Linked DNA regions of Homo sapiens: region 2 is linked to region 1. The links are contacts of gene promoters, found by promoter capture Hi-C in blood cells and fetal thymus (Javierre and others, 2016). All regions are on one chromosome and are shown on one strand. The core of a region is centred on a gene start or on the middle of the fragment in contact, and the rest is flanking DNA. Distances in the headings are between cores, read along the strand shown.

Region 1 (6,652 bases), core at 1,351-3,850:
CACATCCACCCCATACTATTGTTACAGCCCTTTTTCACTATTATAAACCCACATATGGTTAGAGACAGAAGAGGACAAAAAACATGCAGCCATAAAGAGGATTTCTCAGTTCCAGGGTGAAGGGTTCCCTTTAATCTCTGCTGATATAGTTTAATGTTCTGCCTGGTTCACTACCTCCTTTTTTTTTTTACACTTTGAAACCTGCTGTGGCTTGAGACATCAACCTTTGGCATAATCACCTGCTGGTTTTATAATCTGCGGCCCACACTGTTGGAAAAAGGAGTTTCAGTCTTTGCTTACTAACAATTTGTGTTCCTCACTGAACACAAATTCCAAAAAGATAAAAGCTTTGATAGGCACCTACCAGAAAGTCACTTTGTGTACAAGTACTAAAGAATGCACCAAAACAAATTGAGGGGTTCACAGCCTCTTATCCCTCGAGGCAAAAGACTTCTAGTTCAAACACTGATGACACAGGTTTTAATGAAAGAAGAGCCCATTTATTTATCTATTCTGATCGGACATCACAGAAATTCAATGCTTATTATAGTAGAGGACAAAGCTGGACAATCCTAATCACCCTAAATTAAAGATACCTCTCAATTTCTTCTCTCTCCTGGGCCATTACACCAAACCTAGAGCAGAACTATACCCACCTTCAGGGCAGAAGAAACAACGTAATAGCTTATTGATCTCTGGTGTAGACCCAAACCCACAAGTCATCAGGCAAGCAGGGATTACAGCCACTTGATGCAGCTAACAATCAAAAGTCGTGTACTGGGTTTTTGGTCCCACACAAGCACACCTCTGGCAATTACCCCTACATAAAAAATGGACCAAACTACTCTCCTCACCAAAACAAACAAAAATACTACTAATCAGGTACGGGAGCAACACATCCTTAATTGTACCAAAAAGAATTTCTTGGCTGTCAGTAAATGCCCAATTACGTTCATTAATTCTTCATTTAGCGTCACTTGCCAGGTTTCAAAAGCCACCATCACATTCAATTCCGTAGATAAATGCCTTCAAAAGAGATAACACTTGCTGACAAATTGGCTGTTGACTAAACCTCACCACCACCACCATTATACTAGTCAAATCAATGTTTGTGGCAAATGAATTAGACTTTTTATAAGTAAAATTTACCAAAGTAATGATATCTTCTAATTCTTTTTCTGGAGAAATCAGAGCAACACTCCAAAAAGGAAAGGTTAAAACTGAGCTCTCTGAAATACCTATTCAGTGTGTTTAACTGATGAACTAAGAACGGTGAAGTCAGAAGTGTAACTTAATTATCTTAAGAGATAGATGTTCTTTGCAATTAATTCCATTCAGCTCTTGCTCAGACCCCAACGCAATATAAAGCTGTCCGCACAGTCTTCAGCCTTCTCTTAACCCGAAAGGAGTTATCTCTAACCCGATCCATCGACTGGAATAAAGTAACAGTGACCACAGCGGCGGACGAGGATGGATGAAATTACAATTGAACTAGGAGTCAGGACAGATGTGTACACCCTAACAGGAGAGACTGAGGTGGGGCTGGAAACTATTTTCTGGCCTTCTCCCGCGTGCTGCTCCCGGGGAACCAACAGGACCCTGCACGCCCGGATTCGGCAGAGCCCTTGCCCCCGAGGTGGAGTGGGGAGAAGTCAGCGGGAAGCCTTTTCAGGGAATCGAGTAGGACAAGGGCTGGCGCGGTGGGAATCTCGCCGGTGAGAGAACTTCCTAACCCCGGGTTGAGGGGGCGGGGGGAAGGACCGTCCCGGCAGCGGCGGGGGCGAGCTCCTCTGCTTTCTCACAGTCAAGCATCTTTGTGTGTGGATTGTGCCAGGCTACGGGTCCTGGAGCAACTGGCCGCGGGGGCCCTCGAACCCAGGTCGGGAAGTCCGCCCGCCACCCCCTCGCTCCGCCGGGGCCCTCCCGGCCGGGCCCCCCAGCCCCTCTCCACCACCCGAGGGTCTGGAGGTGGACGAGTGGAGAAAAGCATCTCCGTGTGGGGACACCCGTTCCGCCACATCCACCCCCTCACCGGTCTTTGTCCCGCCGGTAGCCAGGGTCTCCGCGGGAGTCTCCAGGGGAACCCCCGTCCTGGAGGCCTCGGGGCCCGGGTCGCCTCAGCTTTGTTCGGTCAGCGGGGCGCGGGGACGCGGACACTTACCGTACACCCCAGCGAGGAAAAGCAAGAGCAACGCAGACCTCCACCGCGGAGACTCTTTTGTGCTCCAGCGACAGGCCATAACCACAGCAGATGGAGAGAGAGAGGAGGAGACGGAGGAGGAGGGAGGAGAAGCTGGAGGTAGACGACGCCGACGCCGCCGCCGCCGCCGCCGCCGCCGCCGAGCCACCGGCTGCTCCCTGCGCTCTCCGCGGCTGCGGGAGGGGGAAGGGAGGGGCCGCCGCCGCCCGCGCGCGCTCCCTCCTCCCTCCTCCCTCCGGCTCGCCTGCTCCCACCCCGGGCGGTGCGAGAGCCCCACGCGGGGCGGCCCTCCTGGGGGCAAGGGCAAGGAGCTCGCGCGCCAGCGCGAGACGAGAGGGTGGCGGACGCCGGACTCCGGCCTCGCGCCGCTCGGGCTAGCCGGCGCCGCCACTCGCCAGACTGAGCGCGCGCCCATCCGTGCGATCGGCAATCCCCTGGCCCGCCTGCCTCGGTTCCCTCCCCGCGCTCCGCTGGACTTTCCAAGTTTCGGGCCGATTTCCACGCGACGGGAGCCCAAGGAGCAAGGCAGCGCCAATCGATGACAGAGCGTGCGAACGCCGGCTGCTGGATGCCCAGGGGCTGGAGCGCGGGGTGTGTGGAGGAGCACGGTCGCTGTCCGAGGGCTGGGCTCTGGCCCAGCGGGTGGGGGGAGGGGGGGTGGGATACCAGCTGGGAGGCTGAAGGTGGTTCCGTGTTGGGGGAGGCGTGGATGGTCTGAAGCTGACAACTTGGGAGTTCCTTCCTCTATCCGGTACCCCCAAGTCTCCACTTGCTGTCGGCGCGGAGCTTCGAGTGGGGGTGGGCTCAAGTTAGTGCGGCCAACCTGGCAGCTGGTCGGTCAAGGGGCAGTGTGGACTCCCACGCTCAAGGTGCCCGGAATGAGTCGGGCAAGGCTTGTGCAGAGCCCCTCCAGTCTGGCGTGGAAGCGCCAAGAGGTCATTTGACATCTCACGCTGGGTCGGGTGCAGCTGGGCCAGGATGTTCGGCAGGGCTGGAGCCGACTTTCAGGGTAGATATATTGAAAGGAGGATTCGCCCATCACGCTGCAGTTTCCCTAAAGCTCTTTTCTCACTCCCAGCAAATGGGAGTCCTCCTTTACTTAGATCCCCAGAACACTTTTCTAAGTACGTCTGTAGTGACGCTGGCACATCAGACCTTACCCCCTGTGTTTTTAAAGCGTTTGTCTACAACGTCTTATTTATATTAGATTTTATCGTTGCCCTTTGCAAGCACTCTCCATGCTATTCATTGAAGACCTACACTGCATCATGCTGTCCTATTGACATAGGTTGTCACTTTTTAATCCCAAACATCCTTGTGAGATAAATATTACCCATGTTTTATAGAAAAGAGAGAAATTAAATTACTCATGGCAAGTAAGTTGTTTGAAACAGTTTTTCTCATTCCAAAGTAAAGATTGTTGCCCCTATACCACAGCAAACTCTCTAGCACAATGCTTAGCGCCTAGTAATGTGTCGGAGTTGGTGCCTGCCAGGGGGTTCGTGGTCTCCCTGACTTCAAGAATGAAGCTGCAGACCTTCCCGGTGACTGTTAACAGCTCTTAAAGATGGCACGGACTCAAAGAGTGAGCGGTAGCAAGGTTTATTGCGAAGAGCAAAAGGACAGCTTCCACAGCATGGAAGAGAACCCCAGGTGCTGGCTGGTGGTGGCCAGCTTTTATTCCCTTGTGGTCCCCTCCCATGTTCCATTTCTGTCCTATCGGAGTGCCCCTCTTTCAATCCTCCCTGCGATTGGCTACTTTTGGAATCCTGCTGATTGGTGCGTTTTACAGAGTGCTGATTGGTGCATTTTACAGAGCGCTGATTGGTGCATTTTACAATCCTCTTGTAAGACAGGAAAGTTCCTCAAGTCCCCACTGGACCCAGGAAGTTCAGCTGGCCTCACCTCTCAGTAAGTAAATGTTAAAATTTAAAACATACTTTCTGGGGAATACATTTAGGCTTTTCCTCAGTCTCCTGCCGATTTGCCCCCTTTTAAGTTTTTTTTTTTAAAACCAGGAAATGCTATTCCAAAAGATAAGAGAAAAATGTATTAATAAGTATTACAAAAATCTAATAATTAACAAATCTTATATCATCTGGTAAAAAAAGCAACCAGCACTCCAAAAATGTTTTCCATTCTTGTTGGAAAGAAGCAACTTCAGTGTTTTTCACTAAACAAATTGCAGTTGTCTTTCCTAATTTTGGGATTCTAAACTCTACTTTCTTGTTTCTTAAGATTGCTTTCTCTAAATTGCGCTTCCATGAGAGCTGTGTTAAGAACAGGCCACAAGCAGAGTGAAGGAGTAGACTGGACTGCATCCTCCCCTGTCCACTTTTAGTACCATTCAAGGAATCCTGTCCCGAACACGAGACACACAGTGCCCTCATCAGTTCCTGTCACACCCCTCCCACCCCTACACTTGCTCATCCACCCAGATGTGTCTTCTCAGACTTGCCAGGTTATCAAACTTTTGGGTATCTGGACCCCCCATAACACTTACAATTTGGTGAGGACACCAAAGAACTTTTATTTATGTGGGTCATAGCTATTGATATTTAGCATTTAGAAATTAAAATAGAAAAAAAAGAATTTATTTTAAATTCATTTAAAATAAAACATGCATTACAAGTTTACATAACTCTGCTTTCCAAAACAAACACAAAAAGTTAAGAAGAGTGGCTTTGTTTTTGCACTTTTATAAATCTCCCTAATGGCTGGTTTAATAGAAGACAGCTGGATTCTCATATCTGCTTCTGCATCCAATCTGTTGCAATATGTTGTTTTGGTTGAAGTATATGAAGAAAATCTAGACTCATGTAATATATAAATTGGCAAAGGGAGAACCTCATGTACTTTCCTGAAATAGTCTTAGTGACACCCCGCTAACCCCCCACCACCCCCAGAAAAACTTTGAGAAATGTAGATCTAGGTGTCTGCCTTAATGCCTTCAAAATCTAAGTATTTTGTTTTTTATTAGAAGGGCTCTAATAAGTACTCAATGTTCACCAGTGAAGGGTATTTATATTTTTTGAGGGAACATTTTTATTTATTGAAAACAGTTATAGTAGGATATCAGACATTAATAAGCATCACATCACAGAATAGGTACTCAACGTTACTCCCTTTCTCTCACCTAATCTACCTAGCTGGCCATCTGGGCTGATACATCAAATTGTTCATCTGTGAGAAAGCACTTTGAAATCCAGAAAACTATAGCTATGCAGTGGTTAATATTGGTAACAATTCCATTGCAGTTGTACTACTAGTTGATTTTGCTTGGCCAGTGTTCTGGACTGCATGATTTAAAGCATAAATCATGCCCCTGAGACCCATATCATTCTTAATCTGAGTCCTCTGGATCCACCGATGGGCTTCAAAGAATCTTAAGCCTTCTGAAATTATATGAAGATTTTGTGTTCATGTACTTTTATAGAGAGAAGACATTATTTTCAGCAGATTCTTAAAATATTGTGTCAACCGTTTTCTTAAAAGTTTGAGAAAAACTGAATGAGGCAACCATTTGAGTTGCTGCTTAATCCTTTTCCAAGTGGTTCTGGAGCTCCTCAGGTACATGCAATTGGGAGTGGAGCAGTACAGGGACTGCTTCTTTTTCCCTTGACATATTTTGAAAAGGGCTACAATCTTCCACTTTATGGAAACATGCCCTTAAATAATCCTTTTGTTTGATTTTAAACTTCTCTTTTTTCCTTGTTTGGCTATCATCACATATAATGGTCTAATTTTTGTCACCAATTAAAATTTGCTCCATCCTAATGTAGACTCTGCTTCATTTAGTAGCATTTGAAAATCTCATCAACACTGAGGTTAGACTGGGGAGCATTATCACTCCCACTCTGAGAATCATCTTTTATTGGAAAGAAAATTGATGATAGTGGGTTTTCTATTCAGCCTGCTGCCAGAGAAAGTTACATCTTTTAACTCCCCCTCAAAGGAATATTGTGTTTAAAAAAGAAAAACAAACTTGAGAAAAAACATATAACTAACTAAAAAAAGACAGTTTTTTAAGATTGAAGTTAAGTAAATGAGATCCCTTTACAAATGAATTCTAATTTCCATTGGTGTTGAATAATATAGGCTAGCAAATGAGATCCATCAATCTAGGTAACTTCTAAACCAGTTCACTAGCACATTTATTGTGGTTAAATATTCTGGGCTGTGACAGCATACCCACCATTGTACCAAGTAGTCAAATATATAATCCTGGCTCTAAATTAACTAATCCAAATCCGAATAGATTTAGTTTTTCCCTCATAAGTTCAACTTAATTGTAAAACCAGACCATAGAGCATGCAATAACTTATAGTGGTAATAACATCTATCTCTTGTAAACGTAGAAAACAATTGCCCTCACCAAGAAAAAAGAAGTAAAGGGAGCATTAACTACAGACATTGGCATATATAAAGAGATACTCTGAGCTTTTTTGTTGT
Region 2 (6,652 bases), core at 2,856-5,355, 96 kb after region 1:
TAATATTAAAAGACCTGGCTGGGTGTGGTGGCTCATGCCTGTAATCCCAGCACTTTGGGAGGCCGAGGTGAGTGGATCACCTGAGGTCAGGAGTTCGAGACCAGCCTGGTCAACATGGCAAAACCCTGTCTCTGCTAAAAAAATACAAAAATAAAAAAAATTAGCTGGGCGTGGTGGCTTACGCTTATAATCCCAGCTACTTGGGAGGCCGAGGCAGGAGAATTGCTTGAACCTGGGAGGCGGAGGTTGCAGTGAGCTGAGATTGCGCCACTGCACTCCAGCCTGGGCAATGGAGTGAGACTCCCTCTCTCCTTCTCTCTGTCTCTCTCTATATATCTATATCTATATCTATATCTATATCTATATCTATATCTATATCTATATCTATCTATATGTCTATATCTATATATCTATGTATCTATATCTATCTATATATCTATCTATAACTATATCTATATCTATCTATATATCTATCTATAACTATATCTATATCTAGATATAGATATATATAGAGAGAGACCTGCATAAGGATGACTCTCAAAAAATCACCTTTAGAGAGTTGAGACTTATAGCTTACATGCTTACATGTCCTTAGCAAATATGGGTGGATAAATGAATAATGAATAGACAGGTGAATGAATAAGTGTTTCTCCTAAACACAAAGTAAGTACCAGTATGGCAAAGCCTGATTCCATATAAAGCCCTCCGATAATTTACCAGACTGTCAATTTTACCAGGAAATATGTCTGTACTCTTTGCCCGAGGATGAATACTCAGTAGACTCTCTGGGCTCAACCTGGATATGGTATATTTGACAGCTTTAAATAGAGAAAGAAAGCTACACTCCTGCATTCATCCCAGCTGGTAAAGGAAAGGCAGATGCTCAATACAAATATTTTAGCAAGTTACAAAGACAGCGAGGAAGAAAAAGGTCAGACTGAAAATAATGCTCTCTCAGAGGAAACATTTGGCCAAGGAAAGTCACAGATGCAGTATCCTTGGTCTAAAGGGAACTATAACCCATATGACTTCAGCCTGAGTTGCCACACAGATGGCAAGTTAGGGGAAAATAAGGCAGTTAAGGAGAAACTGAGGTAGTTTAAAGAGAATGATAATACCCAGGATATGGAGAAATTGGCACATCATATAGATATAGTACACATGGAAATGTATATCAGAGCTGCATTTATGCAAAATACTCTGATCGTATGTCTCATGCCTTCTAAACAAGCAAATCCACTTGGGAGAATTCATACTAAGGAAAGTTTCAGGAGTTTGTACTTAGATGTGTGTAAGAATGTTGAGCTGAGTGTTTGGTTGCTTTTATAAAAAGAAAGAAATGGAAACAAACATTAATGAGAGGTACCTGGTTAAATTATAGCACATCTGTAAAATAAATATTATGCAGTAATTAAAAATGACACTGATTAATATTCATGGATATGAGAATATACCCAATATATTCCCACATACTTTTAAGTGAAAAAGCGTATTTTAAAGTAGTGTGCATAAAGTGATCCTGCTTCTTGTTGAAAATATTAATGGAGATATGGCTATAAATACATGTGTATTTTAGATATTCTGAAAGGTTATGCCATGATATTTGCAGTAGTTGTATTTGGATGGCAGAAATTACAGACATTTAAAGTGTGTTTGCCTATCTTAATTTTCTGTCTTTCTATAAGGAATATATGTTAAAAGTATATTAATATAAGTTAAATTAACTTTAAAAGGGAAGATGGGGACATTGACAAGTCAACTACATCCTCCCTTCTCACATTTCATTCTTAAAGACCCCACTCTCAGTTCCTGGAAGAAGTGGTAGACGTATTATGTGTCATGGAACCCCATCTATCCTAGACATCCCCCGGGGCATCTGGAATTGAGATACTGACAAGCAGAGGCAGATGATGAGTGCTTGAACTGAAAGGTCATATAGAGCAGAATCCAGAGTTGTCACTGCTGTAAGTCAAACCACATGCAACTGAAATATGGGAGAATACAGAGGCCCTAAATAAACCCAGAAAGCCAGCTTGCAGAGAAGAAACAGAGATGAAGGCAGATGTCCAGAGAGGAACAGAACTGAGAGACCAAGGGGCCCACTGAGGAATGGAAGGCACAGCCTTGCTATCAAACCCTCCAGTTCTGATTCCTACATGGCCCAATTCTATTTCATTTCTGGCTCTTAGAACATTTATAAAATTGTGTGTGTGTGTGTGTGTGTGTGTGTGTGTGTGTGTATTTAAATAGAAATCCCATTTACCCAAATAAATTGGAGTGAGATCCTGTTCATTGAGGGACTTGATGAAGACAGAAATGTATATCCCAAAACAAACATCAGGGTAGGGCAGTAGTAGTGGGCTTTGAGTGAGCTACCATCCTCAATGCGCCATCATCCACAGATTGTGGGAGGCTTCCCATCATATCAAACACTATCTTAGTTTGTTCCTGCTGCTATAAGAAAATACCTTAGATTGGTTAATTCATAACAACAGAAATCTATTTCTCATAGTTCTGGAGGCTGGGAAGTCCATGATCAAGGGGCCGGCAGATTTGTTGTCTGGTGAGGGCTTGCGCTATGCTTCCAAGATGGTGCCTTGTTGCTGTGTCCTCACATGGCAGAAGGACAAAAGGGATGAATTCGCTCCCATAAGCCCTTTTATAGGGGTCTAATCCCATCCATGAGAGCAGAGTCCTTATGGCCTTGTCACCTCCTAAAGATCCCACCTCTCAATACTGTTGCATTAGACATTAAGTTTCAGTATGCATTTTGGAGGGACACAAATATTCAAACCATAGAAAACACCAAACTGGGATTTTTACTTTTCTGTTCTTGGCCATGAAAGCCATGAAACTGGTGACAGCATTCTCTTTCAGTAACCAATTGAAAAAAAAATGAGAAGTAAAACCTTGACAAATGTTTCTCCCAAGGCAGGTGTTAATTCCTAACTGATATCTACCAAAAATGTGATTTTGTGAATGTCCTTAAAGGCCTTTAAAGGTGAGGAATTTTACAGTGAAGCTCTCCTATTAAGTATTTTGAATTTGTTGTGCAGAACTTAGCCTAATGTGCTTGACAGCCTTGGCGAAAAATGCACGATATAAATGCATCATCAATATAATAATATAAATTGAATTAGAATGCTCATTCTGTTCTGCTGAGTTTCTTTCCTGAGCTGATTATGTCTGAAATGGCTCTTGTTAGAAGCTTTCTCATTATGAGGAACTCACTGTTCTGTTACCAGCTCTCTGTCAAGTGCCACCTGTTTGGCACTTTTTACTCTTATATTTTTAAAGTCAAGTAGCCCATCATGTTAATATTTGAAGTTTAGAGTCATGGCATTAGAATTGCAGCATGCAGCTTCCCTTGGTTATGTTTTTTGCTAATAGTGTCTTAGTCTGTTTTGTATTGCTATAACAGAGTACCACCCACCAGGTAATTTATAATGAACAGTAACTTATTTTGCTCGCAGTTCGGGAGATTTGAAAGTCCAAGAGCATGGCCCTGGCATCTTGTGAGGGCCTTCTTGCTGTGTCATCCTATGGCTGAAGGCAGAGGGCAAGAGAGTACTAGAGAGAGCAAGAGAGGGCTGATATTGCTTTTATTAATAACTAATGCATGTGGGGCTTAATACCTAGGTGATGGGTTGATAGGTGCAGCAAACCGCAATGGCACACGTTTACCTGTATAAAAAACCTGCACATCCTGCACATGTATCCCGGAACTTAAAATTAAATTAAATTAAAAAAAATCCACTCCAGTGATATTGATCCATCTGTAAGGCCAGAGTCTTCATGATCTTATCACCTCTTAAAAGTTTCACCTCTCAACACTACTGCATTGGGGATTAAGTTTCCAATACATGAACTTTGGGAAAAGTATTTTACAACTAATAATAGTAAGTTTCAGTTGCATTTTGAAGAGTAAAGGATGACAGTTTGGCTATTTGCTTGTTGACAAGGTCAAATGGTGGCCTGACAAATAATGATCCCAACATTTTCTCTAGTAACCTTCTAGTTGCATAATTTATCTTTGTGAAAAAGTTTGGACTATTGGCCATGTCCTAAATCACTTTCCATTTGAGTGAACTGAAGTGTCTAAATTATTTATTGCTAGAGATAGGTCTTTTAAAAATAACTGATAGACTTTATTTTTTAGAGTAGTTTTGGAATTACAGAAAATTGAGCAGGAGGTAGTACAAAGAGTTCCCATACGCCTCTCTTCCAACTCCTGCACCAAGTTTTCCCTATTATTAATAACTTACATTAATATGGTACATTCGTTGCAATTAATGAACCAGCATTGTTACATTATTATTAGCTAAAGTCCACAGTTTATTCAGATTTCTTTAGTTTTTACCTAAAGCCTTTTTATCTGTCCCAGGATCCCATCGAGGATGCCACATCACATTTACTTGTCATGTCTTCTTAGGCTCCTCTTGGCTGTGTAAAACAAACCAAAATGAGTAAGAGTCCAAAGAGCACACTCTAGGACAAGAAACACAGTTCCTGAGATTCACCTACTCCTTGTGACTCTTCCGTGAGGCATGCACCCCTCTTCCTTTACATTTGTTTATCCCTAAGTATTGATAATCCAGCTGTAATTTTCACAAATGACTATTAAAAAGCGAGGCATAAGAAAAATTCAAAATGTATAGAAAAAACAAATAGTTCAAGGACGATACACTCTGTGAATTATAGCATTTGTATCTACCATCCCAGTACAAGTATCAACAGCTTTATCAAACCCCACTGTTCTTTATTCTAATATAAAGCTGGTATGGTTTTTTTTTTCTCCCTCCTAGTGTCCTAGGTGACTTGGAGACCTAGTCTGATTACTATCGATGTTCCTGGCCTTCTGATGTTTCTTTTATGCCCAGTCAAGTACCAAAGTCCTTTCTTTATTAAAAAAGTCAAACCTCTTCTGAGTTTGAAGTTTCTAGATAATTTTTTCCTACTCAGTTTTAGTTTCTAGTTTGAGATACCTGCTGAAGTGGAGAGACCAAGCTTTAGAATGCCTGCAAAGTCTATGGTTTTCTTTTAGAGGGCTACCTTCCTTCCTTCCTGAAGGAAGGCTGCAGGCAGTTCTTTAAGCAGATAATGTTCCTGTTGGCGCCATGAGACCCTGTCTTCTTGGGCAAGGCTGATTAAACCAGATGTAGATTTCTGGCTAAAGACAAGCTATAAGCTATGAGGTCATGGAATAAGAGGTTTGTTCAACCAGAACAATGGGTATTAAATGAGACAAATCAGAATTTCTGAAAAGAAATCTAGAGGATGAAGGCAGCAAGGCCATAAGGGAGAAGGGTCTTAAAGGTTTGTGAGTAACAGAAGTTGTGAGTGAGCAGAAGTCACAAGTAGACCAAAGTGATGAGTAAGTGGACACCAGATGGCATAGGTGTTATTTGTAGCAGTAGGAGAGGTAGAAGGAGCTGACTCGTTACATTAGCAGAACTCTCTGAACTCCTGGGTCTGAGAGGGAGTGACAAGGTAACAGAGGCCTAGAATTGCCTCTGTTCCCAAGCCAGCTTCCAGTTCCTGAGCTTCATTCCTTCTCTTGGTGTGTGTGTGTGTGTGTGTGTGTGTGTGTGTGTGTGTGTGTCGTGGGGGTGGGGGGTCTTTTATTTCCTTCTCTTGGAGATCCAATCTTTCAAATATTTTGAGTGTGCTGTCATCATTTCCAACCTTACACTGTATAGATTTTGTTCCTCAAGGTAAAATAAGGGAGGTTTAAATAGCACATGTGCCTGTCTCCATTCAAGCTGGCAGGAGTTGTGATTAAGGCTGCAAGTCACCTAGCCCTCTCTGGCTCAGCTTCTTTGCTTTGCACATCAGAGAGAAGTTCCAGGTAGTTTTATAGAGTATTGGTCTTCACCCCCAATATAGGGAGATAGCCTTATAAAAGTCTAATTAGACCATCCTGGCTAACATGTTGAAACCCTGTCTCTACTAAAAATACAAAAAATTAGCTGGGTGTGGTGACATGCACTTGTAGTACCAGCTACTCGGGAGGCTGAGGCAGGAGAATCGCTTGAACCCAGGAGGTGGAGGTTGCAGTGAGACGAGATCATGCCACTGCACTCCAGCCTGGGCAACAGAGCGAGACTCTGTCTCAAAAAAAAAAGTCTAATTAATGCAATAAAAATTATGTCATGGGTAAAAAAGTTTATATTCCCCTCCCCAAATTTCCTTTGCCAACTCTCATCCATTTACATTGAGTTCTTCTGTTAACTGACTTAGCAGAATCAAGTTAGTTACTCTGTTGAATTTTTGACTGGTTATGTCTGGGTTCTCTCATAAGCCTTCTCTTCTAATAATGAGCTGTTAATATTTATATATGCAAGGTAATGTTCTAAAAAATGTACATGTATTAATTCATTTAATCTTCACATCAACCCTGGAAGGAAGGTACACTCATCATTCCTCTTTTGTATGTAAGGACATTAAGGCTTAGAGAGGTTAAATAATTGGTCAGAGTTCATATAGCTATTAAGTGGGATTTGAAGTATTATCTGTTTGATATTAGAACCTTTGCTCTTAACTAAGGGCCACGTTCTCTGGTGCCCACCAACTCTATCTCCAAGTCCTTTCCATCTCTGGTGGTTGGCACTGAGACCAACATCCAGCTAACTGCTTGCCTGGATCTCGCTGA

Evidence for each region. The method cuts DNA at HindIII sites, captures the fragments that hold promoters and counts their contacts. A CHiCAGO score of 5 or more calls a contact.
Region 2: a fragment that was not itself captured here is called in contact with the fragment with the promoter of LRP12 in region 1 in 1 of 17 cell types (M2 macrophages); the score reaches 5.2 in M2 macrophages.

What each region holds. Positions count from the first base shown.
Region 1 is chr8:104,586,658-104,593,309 of GRCh38, forward strand. It overlaps LRP12 (LDL receptor related protein 12), which reads right to left and starts at 2,601. Exons shown (of 7, transcript NM_013437.5): 1 at 2,162-2,601. The coding sequence starts at 2,240. RefSeq lists silencers at 1,760-1,869, 2,300-2,639. The HindIII fragment of the contact is 14,799 bases long and covers 346-6,652 here.
Region 2 is chr8:104,681,247-104,687,898 of GRCh38, forward strand. No RefSeq gene overlaps it. Among named protein-coding and RNA genes, the nearest start is that of LRP12, 95 kb to the left of the region's middle. The HindIII fragment of the contact is 1,799 bases long and covers 3,207-5,005 here.